Linked DNA regions of Homo sapiens: all the other regions are linked to region 6. Evidence: promoter capture Hi-C in 16 types of primary human blood cells and fetal thymus (Javierre and others, 2016). All regions are on one chromosome and are shown on one strand. The core of a region is centred on a gene start or on the middle of the fragment in contact, and the rest is flanking DNA. Distances in the headings are between cores, read along the strand shown. Region 1 overlaps TRIM37 (tripartite motif containing 37). Region 2 overlaps SKA2 (spindle and kinetochore associated complex subunit 2). Region 3 overlaps TRIM37 (tripartite motif containing 37). Region 4 holds the start of GDPD1 (glycerophosphodiester phosphodiesterase domain containing 1). Region 5 holds the start of MIR301A (microRNA 301a). Region 6 holds the start of SEPTIN4-AS1 (SEPTIN4 antisense RNA 1).

Region 1 (4,417 bases), core at 1,315-3,814, 570 kb before region 6:
TGTAGTGCAGTGGCACGATCTTGGCTCATTGCAACCTCTGCCTCCTGGGTTCAAGCGATTCTCCTGCCTCAGCCTCCCGAGTAGCTGGGATTACAGGCACCCACCACCATGCCTGGCTAATTTTTATATTTTTAGTAGAGGCGGGGTTTCACCATGTTGGCCAGGCTGGTCTCGAACTCCTGACTCCAGGTGATCCACCCACCTCGGCCTCCCAAAGTATTGAGATTACAGGCGTGAGCCACTGTGCCCGGCTGATGTTTTTTTTTTAAACTCTCTTTTTTTGGTCTCCTGTTACACTAACAGTAATTTTATTTACCATCTGGCTTATTTAGTTCTGTATGCTAGATAATTAATATATACAATCTTTATGATAATTACTCATTCTTACAGGTTTTTGGAAATGAACAAAAGGACAGCTTTTCCCTTTCTTTGGTAGACATACCATAAGAAGTGGACTTTTGTTATAGTTTAGTGGTATAGATGTTTGTAAGAAACTATTTTAGTCTGGGCACAGTGGCTCATGCCTGTAGTCCCAGCACGTTGGGAGGCCCAAAGATGGAGGATTGTTTGAGCCCAGGACTTCAAGACCAGGCTGAGCAACATGGCAAGATCCCATCTCTGCAAAAAAAATTAAAAAATTAGCTGGATGTGGTGGGCACACCTGTAGCCTCAGCTACTTCAGAGGGTCAGGTGGGAGGACCTCTTGAGATGAAGAGGTTGAGGCTGCAGTGAGCTGTGTTTGGGCCACTGCTCTCCTGCCTGAGTGACAGAGTGAGACTTGTCTCAAAAACAAAAACAACCCCAGAAAGTATTTAGCATGTTTTTGTATGTATATATAGTTTGCCTCAAACAGTACATTAGGGGATGTAAGAAATTTTGTATGCTTTCACAAGGCATCTAAGATCCTCTATGATCGGCCTCCTAGTTTCCTTGCAATTTTGAGCTGTTTGGGAATAAAAGTCCTTTGTTAACAAATTTCCTATTTACTGCCTGTTTTCTCTTATAGCTAAAAGTATTTAAAAGAGTGTTTTCCACTCCATTTCCCTGCAACCTTGCCATCTACTTACCCTTCAACCCATTCTAACTTGGCTTTAGCTCCCTCCACACTACTCACATAGCTCCTGCAAAGTGTAGACTCAGTTTTGCTAAATCCAATGAACCTTTTGTTGGCCTTATCTTTCCTTCTCGGAGCATTCAGCATAAATTACTTCATCTGTTTTTCTTGAAACGTTATCTTTGGTATCTTTGCCATAATAGCTATACCATCTTCCTAGTAACTTCATGGTCTATGGATTTTTTTTTTTTAAGAGACCGAGTCTTGCTCTGTCATCCAGGCTAGAGACAGTGGCATGATCATGGCTCACTGCAGCCCTGACCTCTGGACTCAGTTGATCCTCCCACCTCAGCCTCCTGAGGAGTAGCTGGGACTACAGGCGTGTCCACCATGCCCGGCTAATTTTTAAATTTATTGTAGAGATGGTATCTTGCTATGTGACCCAGGCTGATCTGGAGCTCCTGGCCTTAAGCAATCCTCCCACCTTGGCCTGCCAAAGTGCTGGGATTAAAGGTGTGAGCCACCACACCCGACTGGTCCATGACTTTTAACACTACCTCTAGACTTAAACTTCCCAACTTTATCTTTTCAGTCCTGGCCTTTTCTCTGCCTCCAGTATCTAACTACCTTCATTTGGACTTGTAGTATGCATCTGAAATATATCGTCTCTATAAGAGGTTTTTTTTTGTTTTGTTTTTGTTTTTGTTTTTGTTTTTCACCATGCCAAATCTGTTTCTTTTCCAGTCAGGAACCCAGTTTTTTATCCAAAAACCTAGCTCACCTTAATCTTCCTTTTTCCTCACATCCAGTAGTAATTGAACTATAAATGTTAGCAGCCAGTTTGTTTTTTTTTTAAGATTATCTTAGATACTTAGTATATATTGCTAACAGCTTCTCTCTAACCCTTAGAGCGGTTTTGCAGGGTAGATATGTTGATTCTCTTGTTGCATATGAGGAGACGAGCTCAGTCACTTGTCCAATGTCATGTGGTCCATAAGTGCCAGAGCTGGGAATCAGACACAGATCTGAATACTTTCTAAAGCTTGTGATTCTTCCAGTTTAATGAAGGAGAGAAAATAATTTTTAATTTTAATTTTATTTTATGTTTATGATTTTTTAATTGAATGAGGGGGAATGCTCTAAAGATATTTGTTTAATATTATGCATTAATATTGTACCACTGGTTCTTTGGTTTTGGTTTGAGAGAAACATTGCTTTTCTCAAAGTATTAACATTGTCATATTTATTTTGTAATTAAATTAGATTGTGGAGGCTGAGCAATTTCATGCCTGTATGCCTGTAATCCCAGCACTTTGGGAGGCCCAGGCGGGCAGATCACTTGAGGTCAGAGTTGGAGACTAGCCTGGCCAACGTGGGAAAACCCCATCTCTAATAAAAATACGAAAACCATCTGGGTGTGGCGTCGCATGCCTGTAATCCCAGCTGCTTGAGAGGCTGAGGCATGAGAATTGCTTGAACCCGGGAGGCAGAGGTTGCAGTGAGTTGAGATTGCACCACTGCACTCAAGCCTGGGGGAGGGAGTGAGACTCTGTCTCAAAAAATAAATAAATAAATTAGATTGTGGAATACAAGATAAAAATACCACAAATATTCAGAGAATGTAAAACTCACTATAGCCTGGGAAAGGCAGGAAATTTTATGGACATGATCCAGTGACATTTCTATGAGACGGGATATGGAGGGAGGGACCATATAAGCAAATGCACAGATATATCGACAGTGTTATATAGTGCAGCAGTAAGCCTGTTTTGACTGGGAGGGAGGGAGACATTTAAAATACGATCTGGTTACTCCCTATCATAGTCCCAGTCTTTATAAGTTTTATAGTCTAGCAGGGCAAAGGAGACCAACAAATAAGTCGTCGTAATAAAGTATCTGAAGGGGGAAGTGTAGGTTGCTGTGGTAGAGCATGGCAATTGTATCTAAAATAGTCTGCAGAGTGTCAGGGAAAGCTTTTTGGAGAAAGCAACTTATGAACTGAAATCTAAACAATGAGTAGGAGTAACCCAGATGAAGAAAGGTTTTGAAGAATATCTTAGGCAGAGAGAGGAAACATGTAAAGACATTACCTTGCTGGGTTATAGGGCCAGTTCTGGAGAGGAGTTCATGAGACCAGTTCTGGAGAGGAGCTGTGACTTTAACAGAAGAGTGGCATGGTCATGCCATTGTTTCAGGGGAAGAAACCTGACCCAAATTTCGTTTTTGCCTAGGGACCAAGGTAATAATAATGTTCAAGGTTATTAAGAATGGAGGAATCCTTTTCCATAGGCTTTTTATTTTATTTTTATTTTATTTTTTGAGACAGAATCATGCTCTGTTACACAGGCTGTAGTGCCGTGGCGCTGTCTCGGCTCCCTGCAGCCTCCACCTCCTGGGTTCAAGCAGTTCTCCTGCCTCAGCCTCCTGAGTAGCTGGGACTACATGCTCATGCCACCACACCTGGCTCAATTTGTATTTTTAGTAGAGACGGGATTTCACTATGTTGGCCAGGCTGGTCTCGAACTCCTGACCTCGTGATCCACCCGCCTCAGCCTCCCAAAGTGCTGGGATTACAGGCGTGCTCTGTATGCTTTTTCTTTCAGCTTTATTTTCTTTGCTCTGAAGTACCTTGCTTGCTATCATTTTAAGTCTTTTACTGTCCTTTAAGGTTTCCTTGGGAATTTTATTTCTAAGTTAATTATTTGGCATCAAGTTAAAGCTCATGTTCATTTTAAAAAGTAGAAAGAGATAAACAAATAACAGATATTGGGAGTACGTTGGTGTAGGATCATAGTTATTTACCTCTGAACCTATTTATCAGACAATTAAAACATAAAGTTTTTTTTATTATAAACCTGTTGTTTCCTGAAAACTAGTCAGAAAATCTTAACATCTCCTTTATATGTGGTATAACATTGCTCTCAGTTTCCTAATAAATTATTAATATAATTTTTGGTTTAGTAGAGACATTATTCTCTTCTAAAACCTTTTTATAATTATGAGGAAACCAAGATATCTAGAAGCTTCAATTACTGAACTATGAAACCGTTTTTTTTGTTTTTTTTTTTTTGAGACAGAGTCTTGCTCTGTTGCCCAGGCTAGAGTGCAGTGGCAGGATCTCGGCTCACTGCAACCTCTGCCTCCTTGGTTCAAGCAATTCTCCTGCCTCAGCCTCCCGAGTAGCTGGGATTATGGGCGCCTGCCACCATCACCATGCCTGGCTAATTTTTGTGTTTTTAGTAGAGACGGGGTTTCACCATGTTGGCCAGGCTGGTCTCCATCAGCTGACCTCAGGTGATCTGCCCACCTTGGCCTCCCAAATTGCTGGGATTACAGGCGTGAGACACCGTGCCCAGCCCTGTG
Region 2 (4,516 bases), core at 1,753-4,252, 590 kb before region 6:
CAGGCATGCGCCACCACGCCCAGCTAATTTTTTTGTATTTTTAGTAGAGATGGGGTTTCACCAAGTTGGCCAGGCTGGTCTCGAACTCCTGACTGCAAGTGATCCACCTGTCTTGGCCTCTCAAAGTGCTGGGATTATAGGTGTGAGCCTCCGTGCCCTCATATTTAAACTGAGGTTTAAATATGTTCAATTATAAAGGTGATCTCATCAAAAGAAAAAAGGGACTAAACTTACACCCAAACAAAAAATAGCAAAACAAACGCCCAAAACATATATAATAATAAATAGAAAATTAAAAAGGCATTAAAAGTAGAATATGTGGTATTCTATGATCTTCCAAAATATGTGTGATAAAGAAGAAAAATTTCTACAAACTTTAGACTGGTTAACTTGACTTTAATTCCTGGAAAAATTCTTTGAGAATTTATTAAACAGATGGTCTGAAAGCTTTTGTAGTGATCACAAGGGGCAATGTGGATTCATTAGTCTCATAGCTGGGTATGGCAGTGTGCACCTGTAGTCGCAGCTACTTGGGAGGCTGAGGTGGGACGATTGCTCGAGCCCAGGAGTTAGAGGTTGCAGTGAGCTATGACCGCACCACTGCGCTCCAGCCTGGGCGATGGAACGAGACTCTGTCTCTAAAACAAAAACAAAACGAAAAAGCAAAGTCTTGTCAGAATAACATTTCCTTTTTTTGAGGTAGAAGAAGGAAATCCTGTAACTGGGTTGTAGTAAGACGTATGATTGTTTTTCAGTTTATCCTTGTGAACATGTTGGGCAAATGTTGATCAGTGGAACCAGCTGCATATCAGAATCATATAGGTTCTGTGGCTGTTCTAGATTTGGGCTGTCCTATTTACATAACGTAATGTGGCTATATAAATTTAAATTTAGACTGGGCATGGTGGCTCACGCCTGTAATCCCAGCACTTTGGGAGGCCGAGACAGGTGGATCACCTGAGGTCAGTAGTTCCAGACCAGCCTGGCCAACACGGTGAAACCCCCGTCTCTACTAAAGAAATACAAAAAATTAGCCAGGCATGGTGGCGGGCACCTGTAATCCCAGCTACTCGGGAGGCTGAGGCAGGAGAATCTCCTGAACCTGGGAGGCGGAGGTTGCAGTGAGCTGAGATTGCGCTCCAGCCTGGGCAACAAGAGTGTAACTCCATTTCAAAATTAAAAAAAAAAAAAAAAAGGAAGAAAGAACGAAAAAAAGAAGAAAAGAAATTTACATTTAAGGTAGTTAAATGAAAGATGAACATTAACTTCTTCACCTACTGATTGGACAGTGCTGATAAAGAATATTTCCAGCATCATGGAAAGTTTTATTGGACAGTGCTGCCCTAGAGATTCTGATTCTGTAGGTCTGGGGTGTTCCAGATTTGGCAGTCTCTCTAGAGATGACCTATATAGTTGGCAGAATTGTAACTACTTGATTCTTCAGGTTGTACCTCCTATTAATTCCCCACATAACCCTTTGTTTCAGCCAGCCTGTTTGTTGGTGCTCTGTGAAAGTCCCTTACAACTTCCCTTCAGCCTCCCTTCTTTTGCTGCTACCTGCTTTTGGTGGATGCTATTGGCCATTTTTCTTTCTCAGTATCTGTTATCCTTTCCTGCCTACCAGAATATAGACATGCAGTGCATAATGACGTTTTGGTCAACAATGGACCAAATATATATGACAGTGGTCCCAGAAGATTATAATAGCGTATTTTTACTGTACTCTTATGTTCAGATGTTTAGATATAAAAATACCATGTGTTACCACTGCCTACGGTATTCAGTACAGTAACATGCTGTACAGATTTGTAGCCCAGGAGCAGTAGGCTATACCATATAGCCTGAGTGTATATATACAATCCCTGTTTGTGTAAGTACAGTCTGTGATGTTCACACGATGAAACTGCCTAACGATGCATTTCTCAGAACGTATTCCTGTCATTAAGTGACACATGACTATACTGACTTTCTTGAGATGTGTGTTGTCCCTCATAGCGATGTGCCTGAGATGAATCTGGCCCCATCCTCAGCTCCAGGGGTGCATCTGATTGGCATAGGGAATGGACTTTATTTTTTAACTAACAGTGGTTGAGGAATGGGTTTGTAACCCAAATGACATGTGAGTAAGGATAGTCTGGAAGTAGGTTACTAGGAAGACTTTACTCACTGCTGAGAGAACCCTGAGAAGAGAAAGCTTCTTTTCTTCTTCTGGACATTGTGTAGAGTTGTGATACCTAGCACCGTTAAAGCCATTTGCTGTCAGCTTGAGGGTAAAGGCACTATCCAGGATATTAGAGCTGTGAGATGGAAAAAATGGAGTCCTTACATTGTTCAGTTGCTAAATAAGTCAGCCCAGAAGTCTTTCCTTTTTCTGAAGTTATTGTGGAATGATAATACATTTTCCTTTATCTTTTTTTTTTTTTTGAGACAGAGTTTCACTCTTGTCGCCCAGGCTGGAGTGCAATGGCGTAATCTTGGCTCACTGTAACCTCCACCTCCCGGGTTCAAGCAATTCTCCTGCCTCAACCTCCCGAGTAGCTAGGATTACAGGTGCCTGCCACCATGCCCAGCTAATTTTTTTGTATTTTTAGTAGAGATGAGGTTCCACCATGTTGGTCAGGCTGGTCTCAAACTCCTGACCTCAGGTGATCCACCCACCTCAGCCTCCTAAAGTGCTGGGATTACAGGCATGAGCCACTGTGCCCGGCCTCTTTCTTTTTTTGTGTGATTTAGTCTTGCTCTGTCACCCAGGCTGGATGGAGTTCAGTGGTGCGATCTTGGGTCACTGCAGCCTCCGCCTCCCAGGTTCGAGGGATTCTCCCAACTCAGCCTCCTGAGTAGCTGGGATTACAGGTGCATACCACCATGCCTGGCTAATTTTTGTGTTTTTTAGTAGAGATGGGGTTTCACCATGTTGGTCAGGCTGGTCTCAAACTCCTGACCTCAAGTGATCCACCCGCCTCAGCCTCCCGAAGCGCTGGGATTAGAAGGCATGAGCCACCGCGTCCGGCCTCTTTTTTCTTTTCTTAAGATGAGGTCTTGCTCTGCTGCCCAGGCTAGAGTGCAGTAGCACCATCAGGGCTGACTGCAGTCTCGACCTCCCAGGCTCAAGTGATCCTCCCACCACAGCCTCCCGAGCAGCTGGGACCACAGGTGTGCGCCACCATGCCCAGCTAAAAATTAGTGTACTAATTAGTTAAAAATTAGCTACTCGGGAGGCTGAGGTGGGAGGATTGCTTGAGATGGGAGGTTGAGGCTGCAGGGAGCCATGATTGTGCCACTGCACTCCAGCCTGGGCGACAGAGTGACCCCGTTTCAAAAATAGAAAACAAAAATTTTGGAAAAAAATTAGATGGTTGTATCTGTACTGAACATCTGTAGACTTTTTTCCTTATCATTTATTCCTTCCACAATACAGTGTAACAATTATGTACATAGCATTTACATTGTATTAGGTATATAAGTAATCTAGAGATGATTTAAAGTATACAGGAGGATATGTATAGTTTCTATGCAAATACTACGCAGTTTTATATAAGGGACTTGAGCATCTGTGGATTTTGTTATCCTGGAATCAATCTCCCACAGATACTGAGGGTTGACTGTACTTTTAGAATATGGCATCCAAACATGACTTCTTTGGTTCTGCTATAATCCTTAAATTGTTTGATTTCTTGGTCTTGTTTCTTCAACTTAATTGCAAGTTCTTTAGAAGCTCAAACATCATAGGACCTTGTATATAAATAGCCAAGTATCTGTTTTTTCCCTTGCCTTTCTAAATCTGTGATTACATACATAGTATAAGCTTAGGGAAACATTTATTGGTGTGACAATGCAGAAGTTAACTAAACTGATTTAAGTCTTTGAAAGTTTTTGAAATAAAGATTTTATCATTTATTTTCTAGCTGTCACCACTGACTAAAGAAGAGAAAACTGCGGCAGAGCAATTCAAATTTCACATGCCAGATTTATGAAGAAATGGACTTGGAAAGGAAATTCTAACAGAGAAGAGCTTAATTCCGGAGAAATTTAGGAAGATGTCTTGTTAACCCTTGATGTCTAGAGATTGGGGGCTGGTGAAGGGGGTTTGGCTTCAATGACTGGATAATGATATCTTTCATGAGAGAGATTATAAGAAGAAGGGCAGATAATATATGAATAAAGTTCAGCCAAAAGGATCAAATGAGAATAAAACGATTTAAATATATGTACACACGCATGCACACACACACTTAGTCTTGTAATTTCAGGCCAGAAATTCTCAACACTATTTTGCATCTGTTTTCTTTTTCTAAGTCATGATAATATAGATGTTCTGGTCTATCATAAAAGAATGTTTATGTACATTTCAGTCATTCGGTATGTGGCTTTGTAAATTAAAGTATAGGCAAAACATTTGTGTTATACATGATATATAATTTCATTTTGTAAATGTTGATTGCACATGTGGTCACATTATTGTTGAGACTGCTTTTATGTGACCTGTAGTCTCCCACAGAACCTAAAGTAATAAGCT
Region 3 (4,525 bases), core at 2,024-4,523, 520 kb before region 6:
GGCAGGCGCCTGTAGTCCCAGCTACTTGGTAGGCTGAGGCAGGAGAATGGGGTGAACCCGGGAGGCGGAGCTTGCAGTGAGCTAAGATCACGCCACGGCACTCCAGCCTGGGCGACAGTTGAGACTCTGTCTCAAAAAAAAAAAAAAACTGTTTTTCATGACTAATACTTTCTGAGAAATACAGAATAGTTTATTTTGTAGAAAGTCCCTCAGTTTGGATTAGTCTGAAGTTTCCTCATGATTAGATAGAGGTTACACACTTTTGGCAGGGATACTACGGAAATGATAATGTATCCTTTTCACTGCGTCATACAGAGTGGAGCATGATGTCAGTATGTCCCATTACTTGTGGTTAATTTTGATCACTTAGTTGAGGTAGCATCCGCCAGGTTTCTTCACTCCAAAATTTGTACTTTTTCCTTTATAATTAATAAGTATCTTATGTATGGGACTGTAAATATCCTATTTTTCATCCTACTTTTTCCTATGAATTTTGACACCCTTTGATGAGTGTTGCCTGAAAAAGGTTACTGTGTTGATTGCCAAGTGGTGTTTTTCTAATTCCATTATTTCTTACTCATTCATTAGTTGCAATTTAAGGAAGAGCTTTTCCTTCTGCCCTGTTAATTGATGAACTAATGAATTTCATTAATGTGGATAATTTTTTTTTTTTGAGATGGAGTCTTGCTCTGTCACCCAGGCTGGCATGCAGTGTCACGATCTTGGCTCACTGCAACCTCCATCTCCTGGGTTCAAGTGATCCTTCCACCTCAGCCTCCCGAGTAGCAAGGATTACAGGCGTGCACCACCACGCCTGGCTATTTTTTTGTATTTTTAGTGGAGACGGGGTTTCACCATGTTGGCCAGGCTGGTCTTGAACTCCTGACTTCAGGTGATCTGCCCACTTCAGCCTCCCAAAGTGCTAGGATTACAGGTGTGAGCCACTGTGCCTGGCGATTTTTGGATTTTTAAACCAAGCTTGCATTCCTGGGACACATCCCACTTGGTCATAGTGTGTAATTTTTTTTCTTTTTTCTTTTTTTTTTTTTTGTGACGGAGTTTCGCACTGTCACCCGGGCTTAAGTGCAGTGGCATGATCTCGGCTCACTGCAACCTCCGCCTCCCGGGTTCAGGCGATTCTCCTGCCTCAGCCTCCCAAGTAGCTGGGATTACAGGCACCCACCACCACACCCAGCTAATTTTTTGTATTTTTAGTAGAGACGAGGTTTCACTGCGTTGGCCAGGCTGGTCTCAAACACCTGACCTCGTGATCCACCCGTCTTGGCCTCCCAAAGTGCTGGAATTACAGGTGTGATCCACTTCGCCCAGCCGTAATTTTTTTTTTCTTTTTTTTTTATTTGAAACGGAGTCTCGCTCTGTCCCCCAGGCTGGAGTGCAGTGGCGCAATATCCGCTCACTGCAAGCTCCGCCTTCTGGATTCACACCATTCTCCTGCCTCAGTCTCCCAAGTAGCTGGGACTACAGGTGCCCACCACCTTGCCCGGCTAATTTTGTTTTGTATTTTTAATAGAGATGGGGTTTCACCGTGTTAGCCAGGATGATCTCAATCTCCTGACCTTGTGATCTGCCTGCCTCGGCCTCCCAAAGTGCTGGGATTACAGGCATGAGCCACGGCACCCAGCAATTTTTTTTTTTTCCTAAGAGAATCTGGCTTTGTGGCCAGGCTGGAGTATGGTGGCATGATTATAGCTCCCTGTAACCTTCAACTCTGGCCTCAAGTGATCCACCTGCCTCAGCCTCCATAGTAGCTAGGACTACTGGTGTGCATCATCACACTCGGCTCATGATTCTTTTTATATGTTACTGCATTCTGTTTGCTAGTACAGTTGTCCCTCAGTATCCTTGCGGTATTGGTTCTAGGACCCCGCCCTTGGATACTAAAATCTGAGGATGCTCAAGTATCTTATATAAAATGGCAGAGTAGTTGCATATAACCTATGCACATCCTCCCCTATACTTTTAAATCATCTCTAGATTACTTATAATACCTAATACAATGCAAATGCTATGTAAGTAGTTGTTATACTCTATTGTATACAGAATAATGACAAGGGGAAAATGTCTGCGCATGACTTTATTTTGTTTTGTTTTATTTATTTTTTTTTGAGACGGAGTTTCGCTCTTGTCGCCCAGGCTGGAGTGCAGTGGCACAATCTCAGCTCACTGCAGCCTCCGTCTCCTGGGTTCAAGCAGTTCCCCTGCCTCAGCCTCCTGAGTAGCTGGGATTATACACGCCTGCCACTACGCCCGACTAATTTTTTGTAGTTTTAGTAGAGACAGGGTTTTGCAATGTTGACCAGGCTGGTTTTGAACTCCTGGCCTCAGGTGAGCCACAGCACCCGGCCGGCTTTATTTTTTGAGACGGGGTCTTGCCCTGTCACCCAAGCTGGAGTGCAGTGGTCGCGTGATCACAGCTCACTGCAACCTCGACCTCCTGGGCTCAAGTGATCCTCCCACCTCAGTTTTCCAAGTAGCTAGGACTACAGGTGCATGCCAACACACCTGGCTAATTTTTTAATATTTTGTAGAGACAGGGTCTCACTATGTTGCCTTACTATGTTCTAGGCTGGCCCGGAGCTCCTAGGCTCAAGAAGTCCCTCCAGCCTCGGCTTCCCAAAGTGCTGGGATTACAGGCATGAACCACCACACCAGGGCTTAAAAAATATTTTTGATCCACAGTTGGTTGAATGCACAGATGCAGAGCCCACAGATAAAGAAGGCCAACTATATTTCGTTGATGCTCTTAATAGTGTTGTATGTTTCTCTGAGTGTTGTATGTGTCTCTGCTTCTCCCCATAGGCAAAATCTCTGAGCCAAAGCTTTGAAGTTGGAGTAAGGATAAAGGTGTACCTCTCTTACTTTAGAAGCTGAGCTAACTGGATGTTGGGGACAGTAGCCTTAGTTCTTTCCTTTTCAGGCTTGGGACCTCCACCTTATGAATAAGCTGGGGCAGGGATGATCTGGGCCCCAGTATTCTCATCATGCTGCATCCAGGTAGAGCATCTAGTCCACAAGTGGGTCTCAGCAGAAGGGAGTCTCCACCTCTTGGCCGTGTGTGCCTGTACTATAGCATCAGCAATAGGTAGCTGGGGGCAGAATGAGAGATGCTGATACCTTGCCACTCCCAGGAATATAGCCCTCCTCTTGGAAGTTCGGGAAGTGGGAGGCCTGTGTTCTTCACTGCACCAGTCTGGAGTGGAATTTCTGTAACACCAAGTTAGGAAGTGGAGTGATCTTGGTTCAAATACTGCAGATGCCCACTTGTCTTACCCAGTTTTTATAGATTTTTTTGAGTAGATGTTTCTTCATTTGCTGTATGCCCTTGGGACCATTTCCAGAGTCGTTAAGTGGTTGTTTTTAAAATAATTGTCACCAGTTTGACTAAAGAGCAGACCTACAGAGCTCCTTACATTGTCAAGCTGGGTGCTTATCTTGAGATTTCCTTAAATACCCAAGACTGTCATTGACTGGTACTGTTTCAAGTAGTATGTTGTTTAAAATAAAGTAATAGTGATTGTTTTTTAACATGAGAGACTTTGTATGGCCGAGTAGGAAGTAATACCCTCTTTGCTGAAATATTATTTTTGAAAAATGGTATTTAGTCATATACAGTAATTTGGGCTTTTTTTGGATGTTAAAATGTAGTGTTTTAAGCCTAACACTACATGTAGTGTTTTAAGCTTATTGCCATTAAGCTACCAGTTCTCTGAAGCTGTAATTTCTTCTAACAGTGGTTCTTGTATTTATTAGTGTTTCTAACACTAATTAAATAGGAGAGATTAATCTCTTCTAATAGTGGTTCTTAGATTTTTTAGTGTTTCATTTATTTCTATTTTTTTGCCTGACACAGTTCTTTTTTTTTAATCTTCCTTTCCTTTCCTTTCCTGTCCTGTCCTGTCCTCCTTGAGACAGAGTCTCGCTCTGTCGTCCAGGCTGAAGTGCAGTAGTGCAATCTTGGCTCACTACAACCTCCACCTCCCGGGTTCAACCGATTCTGCTGCCTCAGCCTCCCGAGGAGCTGGGATTACAGGTCCCCACCACAACGCCCAGCTAATTTTTGTATTTTTAGGAGAGACAGGGTTTTGCCATGTTGGCCAGGCTGGTCTCGAAATCCTGACCTCAGGTGATCCTCCCACCTTAGCCTCCCAAAGTTCTGGGATTTCAGGCGTGAGTCACTGCGCCCGGCCTTGAGATATATATATATATATATATATATATTTTTTTTTTTTTTTTTTTAAATTCCTTTTTTTCTTAGCTTTCTAAGAAGAACTGGCTGATTTTTTTTTTTTTTTTGAGATGGAGTCTCGCTCTGTCGCCCAGGCTGGAGTGCAGTTGTGCAATCTTGGCTCACTGCAAGCTTGCCTCCTGGGTTCACGCCATTCTCCTGATTCAGCCTCCTGAGTAGCTGGGACTACAGGTGCCTGCCACCACACCCAGCTAATTTTTTGTATTTTTAGTAGAGACAGGGTTTCACCGTGTTAGCCAGGATGGTCTCGATCTCCTG
Region 4 (4,852 bases), core at 7-2,506, 700 kb before region 6:
TTGCGTGTTTATTTATTTATTTATTTATTTATTTATTTATTGCAGTGTTCAAAAAAAAAAAAAAAAAGATGCAAGGTTTCCAGCCCTGAGGACCAGGACGCTGTAGCTCCTGTCTCAGTTCAGCCCTAGCTCTAATTGTGACCTTGGGAAATGTCCCTGGCTCGGGGGACTCGGTTTCCCTCTCTTCTCAATTATGAGTGCTCGGAACGTGGGGGTGGGACGGGCCCCCAGCACCGCAGACAAGGGGTTACAGCTCGTCCAGCTTCATGCAAATCCCCAGCCCTCCTCGTCGCCTCGGCTCTTCCCATCCACTCAGCCACTAGCTCGCTCGGAGCAGTGTGCTCCCGGTGCCCCCCGCGGGGTACCCTCGGTTCTGCACGGCGCTCCCCCTTTGTGTCTTGCTGCTAGGAAGGGACCTTGCGATCATCCTTCCATCCGCCGAGAAACGCTCCACCTACCCTTCATTCTCGACCGTGTCTTTCCCGTTTCAGAGAACCCCTCACACTGCTGCCCTCGAGAGACCCCCGCCGTGGCTCTGACCGGGAATCCCTCTCCTTCCCTCCCCTCAGGAGACCTTCCCTTCACACAGCCTTCACCTCCGGAAGAGCCCTCAATTCACACAACCCCATTCTTCCTCAAACTCTCAGGGATTGGCACCCGGCTGCCTTTTGCGGAGCCGCAAAGGACCCTCAGCCTCCCCCACCTCCGTCATCGGGTTCTGGGGACCCCTCTCACCTCCGCGGTGAGAGATGTGTTTACTGAGGAATCGCTGCTTCTTTCTCTGGTGCAGCAAGGTCGGGTATTTAAGCAACAAGAATGAGGTCACCAAGTATCCTCCTAGCGTAGAGAGAAGGTAAAAAGCCGCAGTGGACGACATCTCAGTCACCGTGTGGGAAGTCTCCCACCTCCGGGCCCTCTGAACTCCGCTGCGGCAGTAGCAACGACGGCGGCGGCGGCGGCTGCTCGAGGTCGGCTCGCCCCCAGCCGGTGCCACTGGTGCAGCGCACTTGTCGGTGCCGGCCTACTGCGCACGCGCAGCTGGACCCCAGCGCCCCAGCAACAAAGAGGCTCCGACGCGCAGGCGCTCTCCGGCTCCCGTGTAGGAACCTGCAGAGATCCTGGACTGAGCGTTTGTCACCTAGCTCTGTGGACGGACCCTCATGAAGAGAAAGCTTGCAAACCTGCCAGTGTGTTGGCCATCACTCAAGCAGAAAAGACTATTCACGGGCAGCCTTTCCTAATTGGAAAATCCACATCAAAAAGGAAAGATTCCAGGGCGCGTCTTATCCCTTGCTCTAGAAAATGCAAATAATTTGTACCTATGGAGGCGATAAAGCTTGCTAAAACACTAAATAAACTCCTCCGTTTATCTAGCCTAGAGAGAATTTCCCCTATGGTCGCATATACTAGAAAAGGTACTGGTTTATCAGTCAAATATCTGAGAGATCGGCCCCTGTCCTCCCTCATTTCATTGTGAAAGTGCAATCCTCATTCTTTGTACACAATAGGCACTGTAGAAGTATTTGTTGACTTACAAGTCCGTATAAAATAAGGAAACTTTGTTAAGGTTATAAGGTATTACCTAAAAGTCCTAGAAAGACAGATAACTAAGTTCCAGAAGGCCCTACTAGTTTTCCTTTTACCCGACAAATTACAAACTGCTAACACACGAAAAGCCACACACTTCAATGCAAAAGAAATAAATCACCCAGGACTGAGGGAGAAATTTTACGGAGAAGACCATATCTCCCACAGGACTAGAAAAGCAGAGTGAATATTTAAAATCCTGATTCAGCCGGGCGCGGTGGCCCACGCCTGTAATCCCAGCACTTAGGGAGGCCGGGAAGGAAGGGTGGATCGCTTGAGCCCGGGAGTTCGAGACCAGCCTGGGCAACATGGCGAAACCCCATCTCTACAAAAAATAAAACAAAATAAGCCCGGCGTGGTGGCGTGCACCTGTAGTCACGCTACTTGGGAGGCTGAAGTGGGAGTATTGCTTGAGCCTGGAAAATCGAGGCTGCAGTGAGCTATGACTGCACCACTGCACCCCAGCCTGGGCGACAGAGCAAGACCCTATCTCAACTATAAAAAGAAAATTAGAAGAAAATAGGGGGTGGCTGGGCACGGTGGCTCAAGCCTGTAATCCCAGCACTTTGGGAGGCTGAGGCGGGCAGATCATTTGAAGTCAGGAGCCTGGCCAACATGGCGAAATTCCATCTCTACTAAAAATACAAAAATTTGCCAGGGGTGGTGGCGTGTGCCTGTGATCCCAGCTACTCAGGAGGCCGAGGCAGGAGAATCTCTTGGACCCGGGAGGCAGAGGTTGCAATGAGCCGAGAAGGCGCCACTGCACTCCAGCCTGGGTGACAGAGCGAGACTCCGTCTCAAAAAAAAAAAAAAAAAAAAAAAAAAAAAAAAAAAAAAAAATTCCTTTAGTCGAGGTTGAAGTGAGCCTTGATGGTGCCACTGCACTCCAGCCTGGGCAACAGAGCAACATTCTGAGGAAACTTACAGGTTAAAAAATCATGTGTTCTGTTTAGGGCTGTTAAACTATTTCCTGTAGATCAACTGACGCACATAGTTCTATTTTTCAAAATATCACCTGATGACTATGGAAGCGTCTAGAATAAACCACTGTGGCATAAAAATTATTTTGAGGCTGGGCATGGTGGCTCACGCCTGTAATCCCAGCACTTTGGGAGGCTGAGACAGGCAGATCACCTGAGGTCGGGAGTTCGAGACTAGCCTGGCCATCATGGTGAAACCCCGTATCTACTAAAAATACAAAAATAAGCCAGGCATAGTGGTGCATGCCTGTAGTCCCAGCTACTAGGGAGGCTGAGGCAGGAGAATGGCTTGAACCTGGGAGGCGGAGCTTGCAGTGAGCCAAGATCATGCCACGGCACCCCAGCCTGGGCGACAGAGCAAGACTCTGTCTCTTAAAAAATATATATATATTGAGCTGAAGGCATTTAAGTTCCTGGAATCCCTTATCAACCTAAAATCAAAGGCTCCCAGAAGAACTTAACTGTCATAAATCTCCTCCCTGGGAACAATTCTAATCCTGTCAGAGATGAGAGACATTGTCACAAAAGTATGACATCTCATGGGTATTCTCCTAAGGACACATTTATGTTTCCAAAAAATCATTTCTTTTTCCAAAAAGTGCTTTCTCCCCAGCTTCTAAGAAGTCATTTGTTCTTCTGGAAGTACCCCCTACCCCTTCCCACCCGTAAATTTTAGATTATATATAAACCTCAAATTCTAACCGCTTTTTTTTTTTTTTTAGACAGAGTCTCACTCTGTGGTCCAGGCTGGAGTTCAGCAGTGCCATCTCGGCTCACTGCATCCTCTGCCTCCCCGGGGGTTCAAGTGATTCTCCTGCCTCAGCCTCCTGAGTAGCTGGGGCTACAGATGCGCACCACCGCGCCTGGCTAATATTGTGTGTGTGTATATTTTTCTTTTCTTTTCTTTTCTTTTTGAAAAGGAGTTTCGCTCTTGTTGTCTAGGCTGGAGTGCAATGGCACGATTTCAGCTCACCACAACCTCTGCCTCCCGGGTTCCAGCGATTCTTCTGCCTCAGCCTCCCGAGTAGCTGGGATTACAGGCATGCATCACCTGGCCCGGCTAATAGTAGAGACAGGGTTTCGCCATGTTGGTCAGGCTGGTCTCGAACTCCCGACCTCAGATGATCCACCTGCCTCGGCCTCCCAAAGTGCTGGGATTACAGGCATGAGTCACTGGGCCCGGCTAATTTTGTACTTTTAGTAGAGATGGGGTTTCACCATGTTGGCCAGACTGGTCTTGAACTCCTGACCTCAAGTGATCTGCCCACCTTGGCCTCCCAAAGTCCTGGGATTACAGGTTCATTCTTATATTTTCTAAGAAGACAGAACAACAGGAAAAGTATGAATTCAAAGTCAGAGTTCTGAATTCTTTTATTATTTTATATAATTTTCTTTTAATGAAGGCGAGAGAAGAAAGAGGAGCATTTACTTTTTTTTTTTTTTTTTGAGATGGAGTCTCACTCTGTTACCCAGGCTGGAGTGCAGTGGCGCAATCTTGGCTCACTGCAACCTCTGCCTCCTGGGTCCAAGTGATTCTCCTGCCTCAGCCTCCCAAGTAGCTGGGATCACAGGAGCACGCCACCAGGCCTGGCTAATTTTTGTATTTTTAGTAGAGACGGGGTTTCACTATGTTGGTCAGGCTGGTCTCGATCTCCTGCCTCGGCCTCCCAAAGTGCTAGGATTACAGGTGTAAGCCACCGCACCCAGCCTATGTATATTTTTAAATTAAAAAACAATGGCTTTAAATGTAGCAAGATGTGTTAAATACATATTTCCTATATATTGAGACTAAAATCTACAATTCTATTTGTCCAACGTTTCAAAATTAGTGTGTCTATGGAAATGTAATCAATTACACAAGAGTTTAGGTATGTTAACTTAATTTGTACTTACCTAATTGGTGATATATCACAATATACCACTATATTGCCATCTGATTGGTGATAACAACTAGATGGTGATAAAAATTAGATGGTGATATAGTGGCATATTGTCATGTGGATGCTGGTGAAAGTTACCATAGATTGGTAAGAATTTTTTTTTTTTTTTTTTTTTTTTTTTGAGACGAAGCCTCACTCTGTCACCAGGCTGGAATGCAGTGGCGCAATCTTGGCTCACTGCAACTTCCGCCTCCCGGATTCAAGTGATTCTCCTGCCTCAGCCTCCCGAGTAGCTGGGACTACAGGGGTGTGCCACTACACCCAGCTAGGTTTTGTATTTTTAGTAGAGATGCGGTTTCACCATGTTGGCCAGGATGGTCTCGATCCCTTGACCTCATGATCCAC
Region 5 (4,819 bases), core at 1,461-3,960, 630 kb before region 6:
TGCACTTTCATTCATCTGTGAAAGTAGAAAACGGGGGCGAAGAATTGGAAAGCACTCCCGTTGTTGCTGGCGTGTTTGGCCTGCTCGGGGGGCGCCCAGCTGGGGGGCTGTCCTAGTTTTCTTTAAGGATCCGTCCCTCACTTGTTCTCTTTATTCCCTCCCTCCCATCCTTAGATTACCAGCTTGATCGCCCGCGCTTTTTTCCTCTTAGTGTCCTTGTTCTGTCTTCAGCCCTTTTCGTTCAGCATTATCTTTTTTTTCTTTTCTTTTCTTTTTTTTTTTTTTTCCCAGGTTGGGCTGCTTTCCTTAAAAACCTGGACTTTGGAGGAAGCGCCTGCCACTGAGCTCCTGTCTTTTTTTGTTTGTTTGCTTGTCTGTTAAATACGATTGGCCGGGCGCGGTGGCTCACGCCTGTAATCCCGGCACTTTGGGAGGCCGAGGCGGGCGGATCAAGAGGTCAAGACATTGAGACTACCCTGGCCAACATGGTGAAACTCCGTCTATACTAAAAATAAAAAAATTAGCCGGGTGTGATGGCACGCGCCTGTAGTCCCAGCTACTCGGGAGGCTGAGGCAGGAGGATCGCTTCAACCTGGGAGACGGAGGTTGCAGTGAGCCGAGATCGCGTCACTGTACTCCGGCCTTGCGACAGAGACAACGTCTCAAAAAAAAAAAAGATTAAGTTTTAAAAAAGTAAAAGACTTCTTTCTTCGTTTGTAATCCGTCCCTCCTTCCCACGCCATTCCCTGGCATTACTGCTTAGGTATCCTTTGTGCCTGCCCTGCTTTCTTCAAGCTGAATCTTGGGTCTCTAACTTCTTCCTTGGAAAGGATGGGTGGTGATCCTGGAAGAAACCTCACCCACCCCCCATTCCCACCCCAGAAAAAGTGAGGCCTTGATATATCTTATTTTCTTCTGTTGTGCTAATGAATTGGAGTGCCTCTCATATACAAATTTAATTTGAAGGCTTTCAATTACTTTTAGCATTTTGTGTTTAAATTTTCTTTGTGCAGTGTGTGTGGGGTTGGAGAAGTGTAGGGAGAAATGGGAGGGAAGAAGGAAGAATTTCCTGCAGATTTTCAAACCTGTAATAATGAACTTTTAGTTTTAAGTTTTATTATCATTTAAAAAAAACAAAATGTTAAGCATTGTAATTTGATTCTGTCAACAGGCTTAAATGTTAAGACTATCTTGCCCTTCTCCCATTCTGAATTCCTCCCTACTGATATAGATATTTCTGCTTAAATTCATAATTCATTTCTGCTAAATGATGCTAATTCTGCTTTTAACAGGTTGTTTGCTTCTCAAATTGGCTGTTTCTAATTTTTAAACTTCGTCTGGCTTTTACAGTAGAGTCAGTATTCTCACAGGACTTCTTTAGATTGAACAAATTCTCTTTTAAGTGAACAATGATGAAGTAAACATTTTGAAAAAGTAGGTTTTAGAAAATTATAAGGTAGCCAGACATTTAAACTTTTAGGTATTGTTTGAATGATGGGGTAGTATTTAAATTCTTTTTGAAGACAGGAAAAAAAGAAATGAGGTTTTTTTCCTTTCTTACATCCTTGCAAGTAAATTAGTGGTAGCTTTTTTTTTTTTCCTTTCAGGTTATTAGTTTGTTTCCATAATTATTAGGGTTTAGAAATGAATTTTTATCATGGCTCTAATTATTACTGCTTTGTGTTGACTAGATAATAAAAGACAGTGCATCTCATCTTCAGATTTACCATGTGCTTCTAGAAAAAAATGTTATACTTGTGGACCAGTTTATTTTATAAGATTTTAAGAGTAAATGATTCCTGTGCTATCTTCTGATTTTTGGTTTTACATCAGTTAAATAAAGGATTTGTCAAGGTAAAAGGAAATGCATAATATTTAATTTGAAAAGAAAGTGTTTATCCTAATTTTGTTAATACCTTAAATTTTTTAAATATTTTTCTTGTTTGTAATAACTTCCAATTCAGAAAGTTAAACACTTATCTTTTAAACAGTTGTCTTTAAAACCTGAAACTTGGCTACCAGCGTTAAATATTCTAATATTTTAGTTATGTGGCCCAGGATTTGACACCAAGACACTTATATTTCAGCTGTCCTTTGTATGAGCCCATTTCCTTAGTAGGCTCAATCCGACTAAGTAGTTGAATTGGACCGTTTAAAGGGAGGTTGGTGAAAATAATGAAAATATATTTTTGCATCAATCAACATTACTAATGGGGGAATAAGCTTATTGTAGGGCAATCTTTGTTCTCTGACTTTTTCCCCTTCACTTAATGATGGGGTGGTATTTGTTTAGCTTTGTTCTTTCGTGGTACTACTAGTGACTGTACACAAAAGGTAATGCAGTGTGATACTATGATACTATTTCTGTTTCTGGGTTTACATCTGACTTCTGATTGGGTTCTTATCCGTTAAAAAAGTTAAAATGTCAATTAGCTTGGAACTAAGGAAACTTGTTACTTAAATCTCAGTCCCACCTCCCCCCATCATTATTTTCTCTTTGACATTTCTAAGTTTGAAGGAAATGGAGATGCTTTCTGCCTCTATTTAAGATTTCAGGAGTTAACTGAAATTTTAAAATCCCCTTGGATAGTATTCAGTTAGATAGGGTTAATGTTCTGTTTAGAGCACATTGATTCCCTTCTGTTGTTATGACAGCCCTTAGTAAACTCAAGATAAAAAGCTGTAAGATGGTAAGTGCTTTTGTGTTTTCTTTGTTTAGTGGTTTAGATTCCAGAGTGATAGATTGAGTATGTAGAGATTGAGAAACTTATTATTTTACTTTTCATTTGTTTTCTTTGATACTTTTATTCAAAGGGCTTGTTTTACATGGCGTTTAATCAGTAAATTGCCTTGAAGAAGGAGCTAACCAACATCTCTGCAGAGAACAAAAATATTTTTCACAACTTTGCCTTAGTAGTAATTATAACTGGTTTTGTTAATACCAATCCTAAAGTATTAACAATACCCATTCTAATTACTATTAAGGCTTAGGGCATATTTACAAAATTCCTTTCTACATCTATGCATGTTTCTGTTCGAATGTTAATTTGTATATTAGTCATCAATAAGCAACATCACTTTGATATTTAAGTCTTATCCTTTTTTAAAAAAACATTGATATAAATGTTTTTTGGTTTTGGATGTTTTTCTGTCCAAAATGGCAACCCTACTTTAAATTCGTTTCTCACTGAAGCTTCAACCGATGCAAGATGCTTTTGTGTTCCTTTCCTACTTATTACTGCTAACGAATGCTCTGACTTTATTGCACTACTGTACTTTACAGCTAGCAGTGCAATAGTATTGTCAAAGCATCTGAAAGCAGGATGCACGCCAGAATTTTGATTCTTACCTTACATCTTTCTTCGGTATCAGTAAATAATTTACCACAACCTTTGTTGCTGAGAACTATAATGTTGTTACTAACAGTATATCTTTTAGAAAGTCATAATTTGAAAAAAAAAAACCTTTTAACTAATTAAAAACAATATTTTACTGCATTATGAAACACGTCTGGAGAATATTTTTTATATCTAAGTTGTTATGGTTTGTCTAAATGAGTAATACTTTATAATTTGTTGCTTTCTGTTACATATTTGGATAGGTTCTGTCAAACTTTAGGTTTTATTTGAGTTTTATGATGAATTGGTAGTGATGGAAACAATTTCTGCTGTATATTTTTCCTGCAGTTACTTGCCCCAAGTCATTTTTTTTTCTCCAGAGACAGAGTCTTTCTCTGTTGCCCAGGCTGGAGTGCAGTGGCCCAGTTACACCTCACTGCAGCCTTGTACTCCCGGGCTTAGATAATCCTCCCTCCTCAGCCTCCTAAGTAGCTGGGACCACAGGCGTGTCCTACCATGCCTGGCTAATATTTTCTTGAAATTTTTTGTGGAGACAGGGTCTCACTGTGTTGCCGAGGTTGGTCTTGAACTCCTGGGCTCAAACAGTCCTCTTGCCTTGGCCTCCCAGAGTGCTGGGATTATAGGTGTGAGCCACTGTGCCTAGTCCTCCAAATCTTAATTGGTGTTAATTTTGTGTATTGTCTAGGAAATGGTTGAATTTAAAACCTAAGAGTGTTTGTTTTACAGTTTATTCTTATGAGATACAATAGTGTGGATTCATCACTTTTAAAAAATATGAATTTTATTGAGATACAATTATATAAAATAAAAGTAAGTAAGCTATTTGTTAAGCAAAGCCGAAGTCTTGCTGTGTTGCCCAGCTGGAGGGCAGCGACTATTCACAGAGGCAATCATAATGCAGCACAGCCTAGAACTCCTGGCTTCAAGCAATCCTCCCACTTCAGCCTCCTGAGTAGCTTGGACTACAGGGGTGTGGCATGCCCAGTGAACTGACGAGTTTTGACAAATGTATACAGTCATGTAACCACCACCACAGCCAGGATATAGAACATTTCTGTTACTTTACAAAAAGCTCCTTTGTGGCCAGGCATGGTGGTGCACCTGTAGACCTAGCTACTCGGGTGGCTGAGGTGGGAAGATCACTCGAGCCCAGTAGTTCCAGACCAGGCTGAGCAACAGAGTGAGACCCCTACATTCCTTTGTGCCTCTTTGTGGTCAACCTCTTCTTCCCCAAGTCCCTGGCAACCACTGATCTCTAGTTTAACTTTTCCTAGAATTTCATATAAATGGAATCATACATTATACAGTCTTTTGTGTCTGGCTTCTTGCACTTAGCATAATGCTTTGAGATTCATCCATGTTGTATATTAGCAGTTGGACAGTTTTTATTGCTGAGTAGTATTCATTGTATAGAATATCACAAACTCTTTATCCACCAACTTATAGACATCGGGTCATTT
Region 6 (4,688 bases), core at 1,451-3,950:
AGGTGCACACCACCACGCCCAGCTAATTTTTGTATTTTTAGTGGAGACAGGGTTTCACCATGTTGGTCAGGGTGGTCTCAAACTCCTGACCTTAAGTGATCCACCCGCCTCGGCCTCCCAAAGTGTTGGGATTACAGGGGTAAGCCACCGTGCCCAGCCTATTCTTACTGCTTTGTTTGATCACCTGGGCCCTTTCCCTCTCATCAAGCTAGTATTTATTAAACTTGCCTGAGTACTCAGTCTAATTTTGTATCAGGACATGTGAGATACACCCCACCCCATTCAGGAATTTCTCTAAAGATTTAGTAAAGCAAGCCAGGGAATAACAGTGTCTTAAAAACACTGCTCAGGGAGTGGGCTACTTCTCTGTAGTCCCAGAGCTCACTAGGTGGCTCCCACTCTCACAGTTTCTCTGCTTGTCTGTCCCTGCCCCAGCTGGAAGCCTGTGGCAGAATACATTGATCAGCAGTTTGAGCAGTATTTCCGAGACGAGAGTGGCCTGAACCGAAAGAACATCCAAGACAACAGGGTGCACTGCTGCCTGTACTTCATCTCACCCTTCGGCCATGGGTATGGTCCAAGCCTGAGGCTCCTGGCACCACCGGGTGCTGTCAAGGGAACAGGCCAAGAGCACCAGGGGCAGGGCTGCCACTAGCAGGTGGTCACAGGTTCCTGTTCCCCAGGCTCCGGCCATTGGATGTTGAATTCATGAAGGCCCTGCATCAGCGGGTCAACATCGTGCCTATCCTGGCTAAGGCAGACACACTGACACCTCCCGAAGTGGACCACAAGAAACGCAAAGTGAGGGAAGCTGGTGGTGGGAGGGGATCAGGTGGGCTTCTAGAAAGGATGTGGTCCCCAGAACTGTGGGCCCCTCATCTGTTTGTCAGATCCGGGAGGAGATTGAGCATTTTGGAATCAAGATCTATCAATTCCCAGACTGTGACTCTGATGAGGATGAGGACTTCAAATTGCAGGACCAAGCCCTAAAGGTGGGGCCACTCTAGGGCATCCCATTCCTATCTTATTTCTTCCGGGTAGAAAAAGGGAGTAGAATTCTATATTCAGGCTATCAGGGTGGGAAAGGACCCTGGCTTCCTAGAATGAAGCAGAGAAGATGACGATACAGGTGGAAAGAAAGAGGTGAGAACAGAGGGTGCTGACAGGCACCCCTAACCTCTTCCAGGAAAGCATCCCATTTGCAGTAATTGGCAGCAACACTGTAGTAGAGGCCAGAGGGCGGCGAGTTCGGGGTCGACTCTACCCCTGGGGCATCGTGGAAGGTAAAGCACTGAGCCTGTGACCAGGGTATCTCCTTGCCCTCAGTGGCTCTCCCCTACCTATGCCTCTGGCTGACCCCTAGCCTTGCTATGCAGTGGAAAACCCAGGGCACTGCGACTTTGTGAAGCTGAGGACAATGCTGGTACGTACCCACATGCAGGACCTGAAGGATGTGACACGGGAGACACATTATGAGAACTACCGGGCACAGTGCATCCAGAGCATGACCCGCCTGGTGGTGAAGGAACGGAATCGCAAGTATGACCAGAAGCCAGGACAAAGCTGGCAGGGGGAGATCCCAAGCCTAGCCTTGGGTGAGACCAAGCCCTACTTTTGTTCTTCTATAGGCCCTGGGCTCAATCTAAGCGGGTGCTGGGGTCCTCCTCGCCTTATCAACCCTTTTCTCCCTTTAGCAAACTGACTCGGGAAAGTGGTACCGACTTCCCCATCCCTGCTGTCCCACCAGGGACAGATCCAGAAACTGAGAAGCTTATCCGAGAGAAAGATGAGGAGGTGAGAGCAGTATGGGGTATAGGGGAGGTCTCCTGTTTGATCACCAACGTTGGTATCTCTTTGTTTGGTAATAGAAAGATCCCTGGCTCTGGTGCATATTTGGGTCCTGGATAGGTCAATAGGTGGTTCTGTCCAGAGTCTCCATCACACCTCACGGCTACCAAGGTTCTGGCTTAAGGGATTAGAAATTTGGGGCACTTTCCCAATACTAAAGGACTCTCCAAAAGTCCCCATTTTGATGCCTGTGCCTATTCCAGCTGCGGCGGATGCAGGAGATGCTACACAAAATACAAAAACAGATGAAGGAGAACTATTAACTGGCTTTCAGCCCTGGATATTTAAATCTCCTCCTCTTCTTCCTGTCCATGCCGGCCCCTCCCAGCACCAGCTCTGCTCAGGCCCCTTCAGCTACTGCCACTTCGCCTTACATCCCTGCTGACTGCCCAGAGACTCAGAGGAAATAAAGTTTAATAAATCTGTAGGTGGCTTCTGGTGTCCCTGTGTGTATTTTTATGACCTGGAGATCAAGATCCTGGGACCCAGTTTTGAAAGGCTAATGGTAGAAGATGTTGGTTTCTGGCTTTTAGTAGGGAAGGGAGAGTGGGGAAAACTTTCCACTTCCTTTCCCCTTCTAAGTCCCTGCTTAGAATCCAGCCTGGCTTCTCCATCTTGACGATCATATCTATCATGCCTCTGTTATCTGGGGTCTGGGTCTCTCTCCATCTTTCACACATACAGTACCTTTGGTAATAAAAAGATTCCTACCTGTGGTGCATATTTGGGTCCTGGATAGGTCAACAGGTGGTTCTGTCCAGAGTCTCCCATCACACCTCAGGGCTACCAAGGTCCTGGCTTAAGGGATTAGAAATTTGGGGCACTTCTCCTGGCTAAGGAGAAAGTGAAACCCTGTCTCTACTAAAAATACAAAATAGCCGGGCGTGGTGGCGGGCGCCTGTAGTCCCAGCTACTCGGGAGGCTGAGGCAGGAGAATGGCTGAACCCGGGAGGCGGAGCTTGAAGTGAGCTGAGATGGCGCCACTGCACTCCAGCCTGGGTGACAGGGCGAGACTCCGTCTCAAAAAAAAAAAAGAAAAATAAAAAGAAAAAGAAATTTGGGGCACTTCCCCAATATTAAAGGACTGTCCAAAAGTCCCCCCTGCCCTTTTTTTTTTTGAGGCGGAGTCTCGCTCTGTCGCCCAGGCTGGAGTGCAACGGCGCTATCTCGGCTCACTGCAAGCTCCGTAGCTGGGACTACAAGACTCCGTAGCTGGGACTACAGGCGCCCGCCACCACGCCCGACTAATTTTTTGTATTTTTAGTAGAGACGGGGTTTCACCGTGTTAGCCAGGATGACCTCGATCTCCTGACCTTGAGATCCGCCCGCCTCGGCCCCCCAAGGTGCTGGGATTACAGGCATGAGCCACCGCGCCCGGCCCAAAAGGCCCCATTTTGATGCCTGTGCGTATTCCAGCTGCGGCGGACGCAGTTTTGTATTTGATACCTGCCCTTGGGAAAACACAAGGTATTAACTGCGTGCAACCTCCTGACTTTCTGTTTCCCCTGATCTGGGAAAAGGGATAGGCAGGTTAAGCTCTACACTGTAGAAAGCCTGTGATAGAGCTTTGAACAAATGCTGCAGCCATTGTAATCACCAAACACTATAGTAAGTGCTGGGAATGAATAAAAACACAATCACCGTCCTACAGGAGTTCAGTATTTAATTAAAAAATTTACAGCATCTGCTAGATTGCAGGCTGTTCTAGACCCTGGAGTTCAAGTAGTGCAAAGTTCCTGTCTTCCTGGAACTTACCAACAGTACTGGAGTTTCAACGTTCTATAAACAAAGATGGGTGAGGACATTAGCCCCGGGCTAATTAAAGCGCTCAGGCCCGCTCCAGACCTGAGAATATCAGCTGAATCTGAATCAACTGTTCTCCATTTCTGTCGGTTGGTGGTATCGCGGGGCCACGGCGACCTCCAGCGGCCACCCTCCGTCTTGTGGTCTGTTCTGGGTCCCCGGGAAGGAAAGGGAGGGGCGATAAGCCGGGTCCTTGGGAGCGTCCTGGTCTCCCTTCGCTTTACAGACTAGGAGGCCGCAGCTAGCTGGCAGTCTCAGATCCAGGTTTCCCATCTCTGGGATGAGAGGAGAGTTCTTCACTCAGGACTGCCAGCGCAATGCAGGTCGTGAAGAACTGCAGGGTCGTTTATCGATACAAAGTGAGTGTTGGAGGAACCCATCAAGACACAGGAAGGGGGAAATCCTAGCGCCGCCAGTCGGAGATGACCAAGACTGAACCTCAGGCCCAGCCCTCCCTTCTCTCTTAGCCTGCAGGTTTTTCTCCTATTCTGGCGTTGGGACCGGATGACAGCTGCGAAACCAAAACGGGAATGGATAAACTGAGGTGCCACTGGGGACCTGTTTCAGAAGTACCTCCTGGGCGGGGCCATCACCGGAAGTGGCTTTAGGCATGTAACCTACAATGCCCGCCTCTAATTGCGCTACCAGTAGGCGACGAGCCGCCTCCACTTCCGGTCCCCAGAGCAGTGGCCAGCAGCCCCCTCTTTACTGCTCTCCTATTGGCTGCCGCAAGGACGCGCTGTGATTTCCCATTGGTCGCGTCTCCCCTCCGGCGCCGCGCCTCCTTCCTCCAGGTATAGTCTCGTCTTTAGGCATCCGATTGGCTAAAGGCTGGGAGGGCGTTTGCCCGACTCGACCAATGAGTGGGGTCGAGAGTGAGGGCGGTGGCTGCGTGATGGGGGCAGGGCGGGACTTGGCGTGGCCATTGGCCAGGGCGGGTACAGGCTAGAGATATGATTGGTTCAGGAGAGGGGCACTGTGGTGGGGTCGGGACTGCGCGGCCTCAGCAGCTGCGGGAGACGGAAGTGGCAAGAGCG

The links. The method cuts DNA at HindIII sites, captures the fragments that hold promoters and counts their contacts. A CHiCAGO score of 5 or more calls a contact.
Region 1: a fragment that was not itself captured here is called in contact with the fragment with the promoter of SEPTIN4-AS1 in region 6 in 2 of 17 cell types (activated CD4 T cells and naive B cells); the score reaches 6.1 in activated CD4 T cells.
Region 2: a contact is called between a fragment that was not itself captured here and the fragment with the promoter of SEPTIN4-AS1 in region 6, in 3 of 17 cell types (naive CD8 T cells, naive CD4 T cells and activated CD4 T cells). The highest score is 6.8, in naive CD8 T cells.
Region 3: a fragment that was not itself captured here is called in contact with the fragment with the promoter of SEPTIN4-AS1 in region 6 in 6 of 17 cell types (naive CD4 T cells, M0 macrophages, total CD8 T cells and 3 more); the score reaches 5.8 in naive CD4 T cells.
Region 4: a contact is called between a fragment that was not itself captured here and the fragment with the promoter of SEPTIN4-AS1 in region 6, in 3 of 17 cell types (naive CD4 T cells, megakaryocytes and fetal thymus). The highest score is 7.3, in naive CD4 T cells.
Region 5: a fragment that was not itself captured here is called in contact with the fragment with the promoter of SEPTIN4-AS1 in region 6 in 8 of 17 cell types (naive CD4 T cells, fetal thymus, non-activated CD4 T cells and 5 more); the score reaches 9.3 in naive CD4 T cells.

Annotation. Positions count from the first base shown.
Region 1 is chr17:59,092,106-59,096,522 of GRCh38, reverse strand. All of the region lies in intron 2 of TRIM37 (tripartite motif containing 37), which reads left to right. Among named protein-coding and RNA genes, the nearest start is that of TRIM37, 13 kb to the left of the region's middle. The HindIII fragment of the contact is 931 bases long and covers 2,099-3,029 here.
Region 2 is chr17:59,111,735-59,116,250 of GRCh38, reverse strand. SKA2 (spindle and kinetochore associated complex subunit 2) reads left to right here. Exons shown (of 4, transcript NM_182620.4): 4 at 3,906-4,516. The coding sequence ends at 3,974. It overlaps LOC124904039 (a long non-coding RNA gene), which reads right to left. Exons shown (of 2, transcript XR_007065864.1): 2 at 1-2,297. Among named protein-coding and RNA genes, the nearest start is that of TRIM37, 7.1 kb to the right of the region's middle. The HindIII fragment of the contact is 1,611 bases long and covers 2,197-3,807 here.
Region 3 is chr17:59,042,164-59,046,688 of GRCh38, reverse strand. The region is part of intron 16 of TRIM37 (tripartite motif containing 37); the gene reads left to right. Among named protein-coding and RNA genes, the nearest start is that of TRIM37, 62 kb to the left of the region's middle. The HindIII fragment of the contact is 861 bases long and covers 2,843-3,703 here.
Region 4 is chr17:59,216,635-59,221,486 of GRCh38, reverse strand. It overlaps GDPD1 (glycerophosphodiester phosphodiesterase domain containing 1), which reads right to left and starts at 976. Exons shown (of 10, transcript NM_182569.4): 1 at 736-976. The coding sequence starts at 877. RefSeq lists an enhancer at 400-950. The HindIII fragment of the contact is 164 bases long and covers 1,175-1,338 here.
Region 5 is chr17:59,149,640-59,154,458 of GRCh38, reverse strand. All of the region lies in intron 1 of SKA2 (spindle and kinetochore associated complex subunit 2), which reads left to right. MIR301A (microRNA 301a) reads left to right here and starts at 3,238; the gene lies at 3,238-3,323. RefSeq lists a silencer at 4,280-4,359. The HindIII fragment of the contact is 970 bases long and covers 2,226-3,195 here.
Region 6 is chr17:58,517,849-58,522,536 of GRCh38, reverse strand. It overlaps SEPTIN4-AS1 (SEPTIN4 antisense RNA 1), which reads right to left and starts at 2,700. Exons shown (of 5, transcript NR_110810.1): 1 at 2,560-2,700. It overlaps SEPTIN4 (septin 4), which reads left to right. Exons shown (of 14, transcript NM_001368771.2): 8 at 436-570; 9 at 684-801; 10 at 891-992; 11 at 1,187-1,283; 12 at 1,377-1,539; 13 at 1,695-1,794; 14 at 2,052-2,281. The coding sequence ends at 2,111. It also overlaps a transcript of MTMR4 not described here. RefSeq lists enhancers at 3,949-4,048, 3,396-4,141. The HindIII fragment of the contact is 4,387 bases long and covers 1,773-4,688 here.